5 separate regions of the Homo sapiens genome follow, and all the other regions are linked to region 1. The links are contacts of gene promoters, found by promoter capture Hi-C in human tissues and cell types (Jung and others, 2019). All regions are on one chromosome and are shown on one strand. The core of a region is centred on a gene start or on the middle of the fragment in contact, and the rest is flanking DNA. Distances in the headings are between cores, read along the strand shown. Region 1 holds the start of RORB (RAR related orphan receptor B). Region 2 overlaps CARNMT1 (carnosine N-methyltransferase 1). Region 3 has its middle 640 kb from the start of ANXA1. Region 4 has its middle 480 kb from the start of ANXA1. Region 5 has its middle 630 kb from the start of RORB.

What was found. Contacts are between HindIII fragments. The study calls those that stand out against the background at their distance.
Region 2: a fragment that was not itself captured here is called in contact with the fragment with the promoter of RORB in region 1 in 1 of the 25 tissues and cell types used here (dorsolateral prefrontal cortex).
Region 3: a contact is called between a fragment that was not itself captured here and the fragment with the promoter of RORB in region 1, in 2 of the 25 tissues and cell types used here (H1 embryonic stem cells and dorsolateral prefrontal cortex).
Region 4: a contact is called between a fragment that was not itself captured here and the fragment with the promoter of RORB in region 1, in 5 of the 25 tissues and cell types used here (dorsolateral prefrontal cortex, heart left ventricle, lymphoblastoid cells and 2 more).
Region 5: a fragment that was not itself captured here is called in contact with the fragment with the promoter of RORB in region 1 in 3 of the 25 tissues and cell types used here (dorsolateral prefrontal cortex, lymphoblastoid cells and mesenchymal stem cells).

What each region holds. Positions count from the first base shown.
Region 1 is chr9:74,495,947-74,498,735 of GRCh38, forward strand. RORB (RAR related orphan receptor B) reads left to right here and starts at 1,389. Exons shown (of 10, transcript NM_006914.4): 1 at 1,389-2,037. The coding sequence starts at 2,031. RORB-AS1 (RORB antisense RNA 1) reads right to left here and starts at 2,607. Exons shown (of 5, transcript NR_125791.1): 1 at 2,296-2,607. RefSeq lists silencers at 1,025-1,237, 1,233-1,422, 1,327-1,621. The HindIII fragment of the contact is 7,823 bases long and covers 1-2,789 here.
Region 2 is chr9:75,023,340-75,026,158 of GRCh38, forward strand. The region is part of intron 1 of CARNMT1 (carnosine N-methyltransferase 1); the gene reads right to left. Among named protein-coding and RNA genes, the nearest start is that of CARNMT1, 3.5 kb to the right of the region's middle. RefSeq lists an enhancer at 743-792. The HindIII fragment of the contact is 3,046 bases long and covers 1-2,819 here.
Region 3 is chr9:73,792,661-73,795,364 of GRCh38, forward strand. No RefSeq gene overlaps it. Among named protein-coding and RNA genes, the nearest start is that of ANXA1, 640 kb to the left of the region's middle. The HindIII fragment of the contact is 4,480 bases long and covers 1-2,704 here.
Region 4 is chr9:73,632,376-73,635,253 of GRCh38, forward strand. No RefSeq gene overlaps it. Among named protein-coding and RNA genes, the nearest start is that of ANXA1, 480 kb to the left of the region's middle. The HindIII fragment of the contact is 4,485 bases long and covers 1-2,878 here.
Region 5 is chr9:73,870,349-73,873,217 of GRCh38, forward strand. It overlaps the pseudogene LOC100420008. Among named protein-coding and RNA genes, the nearest start is that of RORB, 630 kb to the right of the region's middle. The HindIII fragment of the contact is 7,230 bases long and covers 1-2,869 here.

The DNA.
Region 1 (2,789 bases), core at 139-2,638:
GCATATAGCAGGGCTACGTCAATTTAATACTGGTGAAAATTCAGCAGATAATTCATTTTTCATTTAATCAGGAAGGAAAAAACTACTTGGCAGTGTAGAGCGACCTAATTAACTAAATAACTGCCAATTCTACATTGTACTTTGTGTTACATGACATATCATGAATAAATACCAGTCAAAAATCAAATTATTTGGATACTTAAATGATGATGAGGCCTGCTGTGCCAACAGGTATGCTAATGAGTAGACATCTCCCAGCCTCAAGACTGAGTGAATGAGGCAAATATTTTCACCTCCCAATCTTTTAGGGTGTTCAATTAACTCAAGTATTTAAGAAGTTCCCTACTATTGGGAAGGAAGTAGATGTAATCATCTATATGCTTATTTTGTCAACTGAGTTGGAAAAACTTGCAAAGGAACAGTTTGGATATATGTATTAGATTTTTATCAAAATACAAATAAATGGTCATAGATGACAATTTTCACCTAAGGAATACAAGTAAGTTTATCTATGTTCAGTTACCAATCGCCTCTAACTAAAGTTAACAATGTCTTCCTTCTAAAACCTTTCTAAAGAGCACCCTGCAATCACACCTTCTAGCAACAGCCATTTCTCTTGAATTAGTAAGGTGGCTACACCGCCAATTTGAGCTGTTCTCCTTCAGTCCTGTAGTCCATCGCCAGGGGAGTCTCCAAATGCTAATAAAAATCAATTTCCCAGACAAAAGAACATATACACGTTTTTTTCTTTCTTTCTTTCTTTTTTTTTTTTTTTTAGAAGAGGGTCAGGGAGCATCTGACGGACGTTTTTAAAGGAAGGGGACAGCTACTTCCATGGGACTGCATTTTAGTTGTGCTAAAAGTGATGAAAGTGGGTTTGCATTATTCTACCACCAACACCCAAACCACCTGCCCACGGAAACCCCCGCCGGAGACCGAAGTTTACCCAAATAGCGCTCGGCAAAGCGCTGCCATAAATTCAAAACTAACTCTGCCGGGCCCGCGGGGGTTGCGAGACAGGGACCGAACGTGAAACCCGGGGAGCCCCGCGTCTCTTGCCTCCGAAGGTTTTCCGTGATCAGTGTCCCCTTCTCTGCTGGAGTCGGAAGTGCCTGTCACCTGCGGATCTGCCCGACTCTCCCGGTCGGCCCTTCTTCTCTGCCCAGTTCGGACAGTCTCGAATTCCCCGTCGCAGCCCCGGCCACCTCGGACTCCCTGGTCCCCAGCCCCCGCCCCACCCCCCGCCTCCACCACGTCCCCTCCCCGCGGTCCCAGCCTCTCCAGGCGCTGCTGGGCTCTGATTGGCGGCTGCGCTGACAGCAGGCGGGGCCTGGAAGTCGCGGCCAAGCCCGCCCTCGCGTATAAGCCCCTCTCAGCGCTCTCTCTCCATCTCTCCCCTCTCTTTCTCTCTCGCTGCTCCCTTCCTCCCTGTAACTGAACAGTGAAAATTCACATTGTGGATCCGCTAACAGGCACAGATGTCATGTGAAAACGCACATGCTCTGCCATCCACACCGCCTTTCTTTCTTTTCTTTCTGTTTCCTTTTTTCCCCCTTGTTCCTTCTCCCTCTTCTTTGTAACTAACAAAACCACCACCAACTCCTCCTCCTGCTGCTGCCCTTCCTCCTCCTCCTCAGTCCAAGTGATCACAAAAGAAATCTTCTGAGCCGGAGGCGGTGGCATTTTTTAAAAAGCAAGCACATTGGAGAGAAAGAAAAAGAAAAACAAAACCAAAACAAAACCCAGGCACCAGACAGCCAGAACATTTTTTTTTCACCCTTCCTGAAAACAAACAAACAAACAAACAATCATCAAAACAGTCACCACCAACATCAAAACTGTTAACATAGCGGCGGCGGCGGCAAACGTCACCCTGCAGCCACGGCGTCCGCCTAAAGGGATGGTTTTCTCGGCAGAGCAGCTCTTCGCCGACCACCTTCTTCACTCGTGCTGAGCGGGATTTTTGGGCTCTCCGGGGTTCGGGCTGGGAGCAGCTTCATGACTACGCGGAGCGGGAGAGCGGCCACACCATGCGAGGTAAGCGAGTCTGCGGGCACCGAGGCTCCCCGAGTCCGGCCAACTCCAGCCAGACGGGGAGATGGGGGAGGGGAGGGCACCCAGCAGAAAGGGAAAGAGGTTGCCCAGGCGCAGTTCCCCGAATTCGCTCTCGCAGGTGGGGCTGCAAATGGCCTGGGCGTAGAAAGTTGCGGGAAGGTGTTGATGTCTTTCGGGAGTTCTGGAGGGACGCGGGAGGGCGCTTTTTTGGAGAGGGGAGACAGGCTAGTTGGTTCTTACCAGTCCTTGAGTTGCACTGAATCTTTTTTGCTTGTCGCTCTCGGGTGCGGAAGCGGACGCGGGATGGAGAAAGCCGAAAGAGGGATGCCTCTGGACAGGAGCAGTTTGGAAGCGCCCGGCGCGCAGTGGTCGCCGGCCGGGTTTGGGCGCGCGGGGCGCACCGGCCGGGGGCAGGGTGGACACGCGCGGGCACACACTCGCCAGGTTACGAGGCCCACTAAGCGTCCTGGCCAGCAGGCATGTCCCTTCGCTGGAGTAGCAAGCAGAAGAGCAGTGCTGCGAGGCTGGACGCGGCTGAGGAAACAGTTAGTTCCCCGGCACGCGGCTGAGGAAACAGTTCTGCGGCGCGCGCCTTCGTGCCGGCGCTGCGCCCTGGCCAGGTCCTCGTGCCCGAGCCCGCGCGGCCCAGGGAGTAGTGCGACCCCGGAAAAGTTGTAATGAGAAAGTTCTGGAGGCTTGGAAAGGCCACACTGCTCACAGTCGGAGAGTCATGG
Region 2 (2,819 bases), core at 219-2,718, 530 kb after region 1:
ATATGTAAAAAGCAATAAATGTTCAGTTATATTCCCACGGGTGCCACTTTTGGTTTTCCATGGAGACTACTTATCACCAAGTAATATCAAGGTTGCAAGGGTGAGTTGAGATAAGTTATAGATTGGTTACAAGAGCTGTCAATTTTTGATACAGAAGTAACTACACAGAGCAGGATGAGATCCTTAAACCCCTGGTTACTTAATGGTGTGCAAAGCTGCCATAACATACATCCACCAGTGACTCTTAAAATAGGTGGGATCTTACTAAAGTTGAGAATATAGTCCAATCCTTATTATACCCTTATAACTGGGGCTAACTTCACTATCCTGCACATGCTTACGCTATCAGAATTGCTTTAAGGCAGGGGCCCATTGGCTACCTGGTTTTTGTACAGTCTTATTGGTACAAAGCCACACTATTTGATTACACAAAGCCTAAGGCTCCTTCCATTCAAGGGCAGAGTTGATGAGTTGTAACAAGAGACCACTTGGCCTTCAGAGCTTAAAATATTTACTGCCTGGCCCTTTTAAGAAACTCTGCCAAACCTGCTTTGAAGGAGTATTTTACAAAAATCAGACTCTCCTTGGTTCTGAACTAAGTCAGCATCAGGAGGTGACATCCTCTTGCTGATAAGAGGAGAAAGTAAACTTAGTAGCCATTTTTCCCCAATGGTGGTATCTCTACCTCTAACTCTCTCTAGAAACCTGGTGTCAGCAGTGACCTCAACTCTGATTTAGTCACCTGTCATCAGGGTGAGCCCACACCAGGTCTGATCTAAAGGCCATGGTCACAGGCCCATTCCTCTGCACCTAGTTGAACTACTCTAGGAAATCCAAATAGAAAAAACATAACTTGTCAGAAACAAAGCCTGGCCTGTCTTGATTCATTTTAAATCTTTATTAAATACCTAACATTAAATTTGTGTTACTAGTATAACTCCTCATTAATGCACAGTAAAATTTTAGGTAACGATTTTGGATTTTAGGTCAGATTCTACCACAACTGGATTGTGTAACCCTGAGCAAGTTGCTTACCGCTTTGTGTCTATCCACATCCTCACCTGTAAAAATCAGTTCTAAATCTCAATATTAAAAAATCTCACCCCGTTATTTCTAAAAGTAAGAAGTTTCTGAAAAGACTTTCAGCTTTTCAACTCTAGTGTTTTCTATGTGCTGAGGTGCTTCATTCGTAACAAGACTGGGTTATAAAACTAACATTTTTGCTATTCAATACAAATGAGCTATATCCATTTTTACCTTAATGAGAATGTCATCTAAGCAAAATCTGTGGGAATCACAAAATTGAAACCCATTAGAAAGAGAAAATATTAATCAAAAGACATTCCTTGCTTTATGACCTTTTATCTAAATCTCCTACGTATTAACTAAAAGACATTTTGCAGTAAAATTGAACCCTGCAAAATCTGGACGTACAGCTGACCCTTGAACAATACTTGGGTTGGGGCACCAACCCCCTGTGCAGTCGAAAACCCACACCTAACTTTGATTCACCAAAAACTTAACTACTAATAGCCTACTACTGACCGAAAGCCGTACCAATAACATAAACAACTGACAGATATGTTGTATGTTAATATATTACGTACTATATTCTTACAATAAAGCTAAGAAAATATTAAGAAAGTCGTAGGAAAGGGAAAATACATTTACACTACTGCACTGCATTTATCAATACTATAAGTTTACATAATTTGATTACAAGATGAATCCTCTGTCTGAAATGGGGTTGGGGGGCAACCTCCAACTGCAGACCTCTATCTACAGTACATATCAAACAAATCAACTTTTTCTTGTAATGTCTTTTTTCTCTGCTTCTTGGGAGCACCTGCAGCATCACCAGTGGCACGTCATATGGGACCCATGGTGTTATTTAAGGTTTATGGTATTGCATTAAATTTGATGAAATCTGTTTACTGCTATATGCAATTTACTTGACAGACAAAAGCAGAGTGATTATTTTAAGAAGATACTGGTAACATCTGAGCTTACTGCAAAAGCAACAGGAAGTGGCTACAAAATTATTACAGTAGTACAGTATCTACTACAGATAATTTTATGCAACTAAGATTTAATGCTACATCTTTGCTTGTTTACATTTATCTCAATTGCAAATAGCTCCATGTAAGATCTGTGTTTGTGTAAGTTTTGATAAATTTTAACTTTTTATAATAGATTTGTGTATATTTTATGGTAGTAAATGATAAACTAGTATCTACACATATGCATTCATGGCATAATTTTTTCTTAATTTTTTCACTATTTCTAGGCTATGCAAGTTTGCTAAGTTTTTCAAATTGTTGCAAATGTCAAAACAATTTTCCAATATGTTTATTTCAAAAAATTTGTGTATAAGTGGACCCGTGCAGTTCAGATCCATATTGTTTAAGGGTCAACTGTACTTGCTAAATGTGTAGAACCGGATTGTCCATCACAACCTACTTCGATAATGGAAAAGCTTTTATTTGCACTGTCCAGTACAGCAGACTCTAGCCACATGTAGCTATTGAGCACCTGAAATATGGGTAGTGAAACTGAGCAACTAAATTTTAAAGCTTATTAAATACTAATTAATTTTAGCTTAAATTTATCCAGATATGATTAGTGGCTACAGTTTAAGTCTAGAAGATCACAAAATATTAGAATGTAACAATCCACTGTTCTCTGCTACATAAACTTTCTGTACCCCTAGGCTTTAAGTGACATTTTAAAAAGCATATTTTTGATGTTATACTATTTTCAGCCCAAGTATTTGAAGTGTTTCAAGAGAGTATATACAAATAAAAACTGTTTTTTTTAAA
Region 3 (2,704 bases), core at 204-2,703, 700 kb before region 1:
ATAGGAAATAATCCTTTGAATAGTATTTTAGAGTTTACAAGTAGTCTTTTTAATCATTAGTTTTATTTGATCCTTGCCAATGTATTTGGAGTAGCTATGTCAAGTGTTGTTAATGGCATTTAACAAATGAAGAGAGTGAGGATGTCAAAAGTGAAATCACATATTAAGTGCAAAGTTGAAACTGGTATCCACATGTTTCTTTAAATTTAATGACTCCTATAACACAGGAAAGTAATGGCAGTAAACTGTAATGGCAAATACAGCCAGAAAGGAAAATATGGTGGTAATAATAGAAATGGGCATAAATAAAGTGTGTATTCTGTGTTTAAAATATCATATCATGTTTAATATTACTAACAATTTTATGAGGGAGAAAATCTTATCGCCAATTATCAGAGGTCAAATCCAAAAGGTTAATTTGCTCAAGGTCATAAAGCCAATCATTTTGGATATGTGATATAATATTTTCAACTCCAAGACAATCAAAACGAAGACTCCTTAAAATCTGATAGGAGATTGTCTTAAAAACTAAAATGTGTCCATTTATCTGAGATTTGAAACCCAATCATTTAAAATAAATATTTGAAGTTAGAGAGTTGTGTTTTCATATCCTTGTCAGTTGTCCATTTTTGCCAGTCTAGAAAAGGGGGAAAAATTCTTCCAGAATTTTTAGAAAATCAATATCAAGAGCAACTGGTTCTCGGCTTTTTCTTAGACAACTGATGTTTATATTAGTTTCATTTTCATTACTATAAGTTACCACTGAAGTTTTCCTACCCTGCCAACCACTCACATCTATTATTTTGTCCTATAAAATTAGAAAACAGAACAAAAGAAAGGAGAAAGTTAATATATCCTGTGGTATGGGATATTGTTGCTTTGAACATATTAAGACAGAATTTATGGGGAACCAGATTAATTTTAAGAAACTCCCTGTGGGTTCTGTTTGTTGTTTTGAATCGCTTTAATAGTAAACTTGCATTATTTATGTTTATTAATATTTAGAATGCACTCTGCAAGGATGATTTTCATCTGAGTTATAATTAGTCTCAGCTGATGAATGCAATAAAATGATTATAAACAACTTTGTGAGATCATTATCAGTGTCGTGGGAGAAAATGTTAAAACACTGTTCCAATGTTTTACCTTCAGAGATCCACTGAAATGAGTTTCAACCCATTTAAAACCTTACATACATCATTATAAATTTATACTTTCTCTCCTGAAGTTATTGAACTTTATGTACTGATTCACTCTTCCAGAATCCAACTGACATTTCTTCTGTCTAAAATCTTTCTTCTGTCTAAAAATCTTCAAGCATTCTTTGTTATTCATTTCTGAATCTAAAGATATGTTCTTTGTGAAATATTTAGAAAATAAAGAGTTATATAAATAACTACATAAACATTATCCATAAAATTATCATGCAGAGATAATAACTCTTGGCTTTTAAACATATTTTATTTAATTAGGACCTGCGATGATTTATGTGGTTGTGTGGTTTATGTATGGATATATGCATTTTACATAATTGAGTTGATATTTTATGTATAATATCCTAGGAGTTATTTTCACTTGACACCAAGTAAGAACATTGTTTATTTCTTTTAATAGTTTTTGAAAACTTTTTTTTTAACTAACTAAATAATTTGGATAATATTATAGTGAAATTAACCACTTCACTCTGGTATCTTTAAGTAATGTTTTTGATTTGTCAATGAGATGAATAATAATATAATGGTAATAGTAATAATAGATTGTTATTTGAATATTTCCTCTGCCTAAATAAATATGACTTTAGAAATGAAGCTTACCACAACATTTTTAGGGCTTTTTATATATATTGTAAAGTTATGGTTCAGAAAAGTTTTATCTATTTGCATGACTACCAGTATTTGAGAGTACCCGCCTTAAGTGCACTAAATATTATTGGTAACATTTGCGTAGTTGATCAATGTAAGAGTTTGTTCATTTTATATTTACTCTATTTTCTTTAGTTATTTGTAAGAAGGATTTTTTTCCTTTTTCAAATAACCATTTTTAATTTTACCAAATATGTACATTACATATTTAAACTGTTACATTTTCTAAGAATAGACTTTTCAGAATTTTAGTTAATGTATTTTGTTGCTTATATTTATAAGAATAAATAATGAGGCTCCTTTTTAATGTTTTGATACTATTAGTAGCAGTAGTACCAATAAATATATACTTTTTACTTCTAATTTCTTTGATTTTGTTTTATTACTTTGTTTTTTAACCAAAAGCATAATCTGCATTTTTCTTTTTTAAAAAACATACAGTTTTTGAGTACATCTTTTGTGGTAGCTCTTAGTTTTGATAGGTTGTTTTTGCATTTTTATTTGCTAAAAGCTCAATAATTTTAGTCATGCAATGTGGTTTATTTGGGACAATTTGTATATTCAAGCAATTTGATTATTTTCTGTTGATACATTTTGATAATTAACTAATAATAATGAGAAAAACAGCATACTCAAATATTTCTATGGAGTTTTTACCCTAAATTATCATTTTTCTCTAAGCATTTTGTGCACATTTTGTGTTATTAAATGCAAGCTTTATTTTACTTATGTTATTGACTTGTTCCCACCGTATTAATTTCCTTCTTGTCATACCCATTGCAACACATGCTCCTCTGTTTTCTTTTATTCAGCCAAATCTCTTCATAGATACATAATTGTAA
Region 4 (2,878 bases), core at 119-2,618, 860 kb before region 1:
AACTATTTGTGGACTTATTAGTGATTCCTGTTAGCAATAATTCTCCCCTTTCTTTTTAGACAATAATAAACATTATGCCTTGTATGTGTACAGTTTGGTGGAATAACTCAGTATTCATTTAAAGGTTTTGGATATTACAAGTGTCTTAAATGTGAGAAAGTGTCTCAGATTTAGATCTATCATTGTACCTGTTATCTCTCAGACAACAGAGCCATTAGCAATGAAGGGCTAACTGCTGATCACATATTTTTTATTATAAAAATCTTTGTAGAGACAGCATTTCATGGAGAAGCTTGAACATTGCTTGAACTGGTAGTAATTTCAGAAGAAATAAGTGATTCGAAGAAATATAATGGTGAATATATTCTATGGCCAGGCAGCAGTGATAGAAGGATCTCCTTTGACCCTATGACAATTGTTATTGATTATCTTGTGATGAAAATGAACAACTGTAATTCCTAGATAATTTAAATACATATTTCTACGTTATGCTTGGCTTTAACAGCTGTCTGTGTGTATATATGTGTGCATATCAATTTTAATCAGTCCCGTGGGACTAGAGAAATTAATGTCCTCTGATTTTTTTTATGTTTTATTGTGGATTGATAATGAGTATGTTTATACACCATTAGTAATACCAGCAGCAATATTTTCATAGCTGGCTGATTTTTAATTTGGGTTATATTGAGTACATTCAATATATTTCAACAAGAACATAATAGCTAAGGATGAGTGCCTGTAAAGGCTCTTCTTTGGATCTATTCATATTTTTGATCAACCATACCAACAGTTACTTTGTACACTCCTTCATGCCTATAAAATTATGTAACAATGTCCAATAGTTCTGAAACTATATCATAGATTTTCAATATGTACAACTGACCCTCAAATTTTCTAGTTTAAATAACTCTCTATCTTAGCTTAACAGGATGATCAATGATGCTGAAACAGGGTGGATGCACATAAGAGAGGAATCAGTGTTTTGATGTCATGGTTTCAAGCCAGATGATAAGACAAATGTTACATCAGGCACTTTGATGGAATGTTTCTGGAAATCAATAAACCTTGAATTTCTGACCCTTAATTTACTATGGACAAAATGATATCTATAATAAGCAGATAAAAGTGGTAGTCTTTCTATGTCTCAAAAAAAAGATATCATATATATAACCCTGTAGTTTGTGATCCATCTTTCTATGTATATAAGCTTATAATGAGGATGCATAGCTATTTATAAGCTAAGAAATGTAAGAATTAATTATATATATAACTATTGAATTAAAAATTAAGCATATTGCTTTTATGCTCTCATTCAACATGCATGTATTAATGGTCATATATGTACACATGTATGTATATATGAATGTAAGTGTATACATATATGGTTGTGCACATGCACACGTGCATATATAACTTGTGTCAGAGTTGCCATACAGTGGTATCATTTACACTGTATTCTATAGATCTGTGTGAAATGGAAGCCCTGTCCCAGATGCCGTATAAACACTGGTAAATATAATCAATATGGTGTCAATCCCCAATAATCAAAGTTCAGGAGAGATAAGAAAGTAAAGAACAAGGAAACAAACATAGAATTAGTATGTGTGATGTACCCTGAAGATGATAATATTAATATAAAAGAGTGGTCAAGGGAAGCTAAATTATAGAAAGTGGCAAGGGAAAGCTTTATTAAGAAAGCAAGACTTGAAGTTTGAGAAAGAACCAGTCAAATGAAGAGCGTGGAGACTGAGTATTAAAGGCAGGAGGGAAAACATGTGTTCAGAGAACACTGAAGCAGGAAGGATTTTAACAACATTGAAATTATCAAAGAATACCGACACAGCTGGAGAAGAGAGAGGGTAAAAAAAGACCTTAAAATGATATTGGTGATGTGTCTAGTGGCTGGATCATACAGGTCCTTGTAAGGTATATTTAACAGTGTGGATTTTATTCTTAATGCAATGTGGAGCCACTGCCAGCTTTTAAGTCTGAGAGTAGTAGCTTAAATAATTGACTCTGGATATTGTGTAATGAGAGCCTGAAGCAGAGATAAAGTAAAAATGGGAATAACAGTTAAGAAATCATGGAATCAATCCATGTAAGAGATGACAGTGGCTTTACTGTGATAATGGCAATGGAAATAGACATATTCAAATACTATTTTGAGGACAAAAAATGTCAGAAATTGGTAAATTATGTGATTATTTATCATATAATTTATGTGATTACTTATCACAACCCATCTAAGCTATTATCAATTTCTGGCATAATAAACAATAGCTATGCCCTCACAAAAATATCATAAAAAAGAATGAATTATAGGTATTATTAAAATATACATTTTTTTATGAGCAAAAGAAACCACATTTTATTCAAAGGTCTAAAACAGAAGTGTCTAGCCTGGGAGAGTAATGGGCGATCAGACGAGTAATGTTTACTTTTAATATGTCAAAAATGTTTCAGAATTAATGAATTTTCTTTGATGAGGCAACTTCAAATATCTTTGCTTAGGATGTTTAGGGCTTGACATGGAAAACTTTGTTTAGCTTTTGATAATGTATTTATTGTCTGTATATGATTCATCATGATGAGAATATTATGGATTCCCTTTAAATATTATCCAGTGTGTGTGTATACATGTGCATATATATGTGTTAATAAAGTAATGTATGCTTATAAAAACAAAACATATTTAAAGGAATAAAGAATAAAATAAAAACATTTAAAATTCTTCTATCCAGAGATAGCCTTTATTAAAATAATGGTATATTACTTCCAAGTATTTCCCCGTGCACACAAAATCACATACATGTACACATTCAAAGCAGAATGGCTATGTGGAAAATAACACAGAATTTAGAGTGAAGCAATATTGAGT
Region 5 (2,869 bases), core at 294-2,793, 630 kb before region 1:
AAACGGTAATGTGTTGCATTGTTCAGGTGATTTGGGCAGAATAAAAGTTAAGACACTTTAGTTTTTAACAATTTGATTTTATCCCCTTTACAGCTCTTGATTTGAGCTGTATTGTCTTATAATTGTAATTGTTGGTTTCTCTTTTTTCTCTGTTATACTGGAATGACTTTGAGGGTAGGACATGTGCTTTTCACATAGTAAATGCCTATTTTAATGATTAATATACTAATGTCATTTAATGTCAAATAAAATAAACTAGGCTGGAGTAAAATGGACCTCGTTGTTTTCCTCTAGCCTGAATGGCCCAGCCCCTGACCCTGAATCACTTTTACTAGTTTCTTTTATTTCCATTCTTTCTTTCTTTTTTAAATTGATTGAGTTATTGGATATTTATTGAGTATCCACTATGTATCAGGCAAAAGGAACAGAAACAAATGGTCTGTTCAAAGTTACTTTTAACTCTTTCAGCAATGTCTCATCATAAAAAAAAAAAAAAAAACCATTCTTCTGAGAGTACACGTTCATTATCTGGTTACTCTTCATACACTCAAGTGTCCTTCCAAATACTGCATAATGCTGAGACTACTTAACCTTCCAATCGTTGGCTGGGCTTGATGGCTCACACCTGTAATCCCAGCACTTTGGGAGGCCAAAGTGGGTGGATCATTTGAGGCCAGGAGTTAGAGAACAGCCTGGCCAACATGGCAAAACACTGACTCTACTGAAAAAATACAAAAAATTAGCTGGGTGTGGTAGTGCCCACCTGTAATCCCAGCTACTCTGGAGGCTGAGGTAGGAGAATCACTTGAACTCAGGAGGCAGAGGTTGCTGTGAGCTGAGATCATGCCATTGTACTCCAGAGTGGGTGACAGAGCAAGACCCTATCTCAAAAAACAAATAATAATAATCCAATCATTGTCTAAAAGACTAGAGGAATTACCATTGTTTTCACCTCTGTTTGACAAAGCAGTAATCAATGGAGTAAAATCCTTCCTTTTAATGGCAGTGGAACAGCATGATACTTGATGGTGTCAGATGTCCATTTTTAGTAAAAAACAAACACTGGGCTATACATGCTATGCCAATCAGTGAACTTCTGAGAACACAGTTTTCCTTCCTTATATTATCTGAATACAAAGCATCAGTTACAAGGAGTTTGTAAGCAATTTTAGTAGGCTAAAATCAAAGTGCAGTCAATGATGCATATGTCTTCAAAGTATCAGAAACTTGAAGCAGTGTCTGTAAATGAAGTTTGCCAATACTCCAGAGCAACTGAGGCAGTATAGGGAAGAGACTTGATCCTGACAAGTCACATAGGTGAAATGGTAACCAAAGTCCGGATGGGTCTTACGTGCCTGGGTATATTCCCTCCCCTGCCTTCTTGCCTTCCTTAAGAAGCTAAACCAAATCACATAGCAGGAAGAGTCTCCTAACTTAGCTGACTGGGCTAAATTCCTAACCATAAAAGGAAAATCCTAACCATTTGTCTCTTTTGGGCAATGTTTGCCGAAGTCACTGAAGCAACACTCTGGCATTCTAGATAAGAATCTGACCAGATGCAGTGGCATAAATACAAGATGGACTCTGGCGCTGTCCTTTCACTGACTCTCCTCATTACACTCTCATCATAATGCTAAATTCTTTGCCCAAGACAGGCCTTATATGGTCCTGCAGTGCATATTAGAGCATGACATCTTACTGCACAAGGCAGGAGAAAGGTCCACCTAAACATGTTTCTGCGTTATTCCCTTTTCTTGCCTCAGCTTCCTTAAAGTGACAAAGGCCAAGCCCCTTGGGGACCTGGCATCTGTTTCACTTTCCCCAGCACTCCTCCCTTGTGCATTGGAGACACAAGCTTACTAAACCTGAAACCGCCTTTGCAAAAATTATAACTGAGGAAATTATGACAATGAACGAGATCAGACCTAATCAACTTCATCTTGCTTCTAACCTTTAAGCTGTCCTTATTCATTCCTGGGCATAGGCTGAACTAACCTTGGGAAGGAGTTCAGTTTATAGTTTAACTCTGAAAACAAAATTGATAATATTCCTTACCTGAAAAACAAAAACAAACAAGTAAAAAAACCCTCCTTGCCTGACGACCAGTATGCCTTTGTAAGACTTACAAATTAGCTACAAGATTAGGAATTATTATTTAGGGGCCATTCAGTCCCTGGTTGCAAGAGTTTGAGCCTCTTCAAATTGCTCCTGTGAATAACATCAGTATTGTAACACCTAAGATCAATGCTTGAGATATTTTGCAGATCCTGCACTCATGCACCAGCTGACACCACCCAGACAGGTAATCTAACTCAACCCCTTCTGCAATCCCACCAGGAACAGAAGACAGCAACAAAAACTCACTTAGACTCCAGATGATTCCATCTCTAAACTTACTAACCAGTGTTTCCCATTTCCGGAGCCCCTACCCACCAAATTATCTTTAAAAACTCAGATCCCTGAATGCTCCAGAGACTGATTTGAGTAGTAATAAAACTCCGGTCTCCCACACAGCTGGCTCTGCATGAATTACTCTTTTTCTATTGCAATTTCCCTGTCTTCATAAATCTGCTCTGTCTAGAGCCGATAAATCAGCAGCGGGCAAGGTGAACTGCCCACTGCCTAGTGGGCGGTTACAAACTTTTCCTGAAGGGAAAAAAATACCTCCCTTTGGTCTCTTATTTTTACTTACACAAGAGTCAAAGTACTCAGGGTTCCTGTGCGGTAACAAAACCAGTTTTTGTTCCAAGTAACACCATTCCATATACATTTAACGTCGTTTATTTTGTAAGATATTCAGTTTGTTTGTGTGGTTTTTTGTATGATTTTGATGGCCATTGGACTTCTAAGTTTTGCATCTTCTTGACAA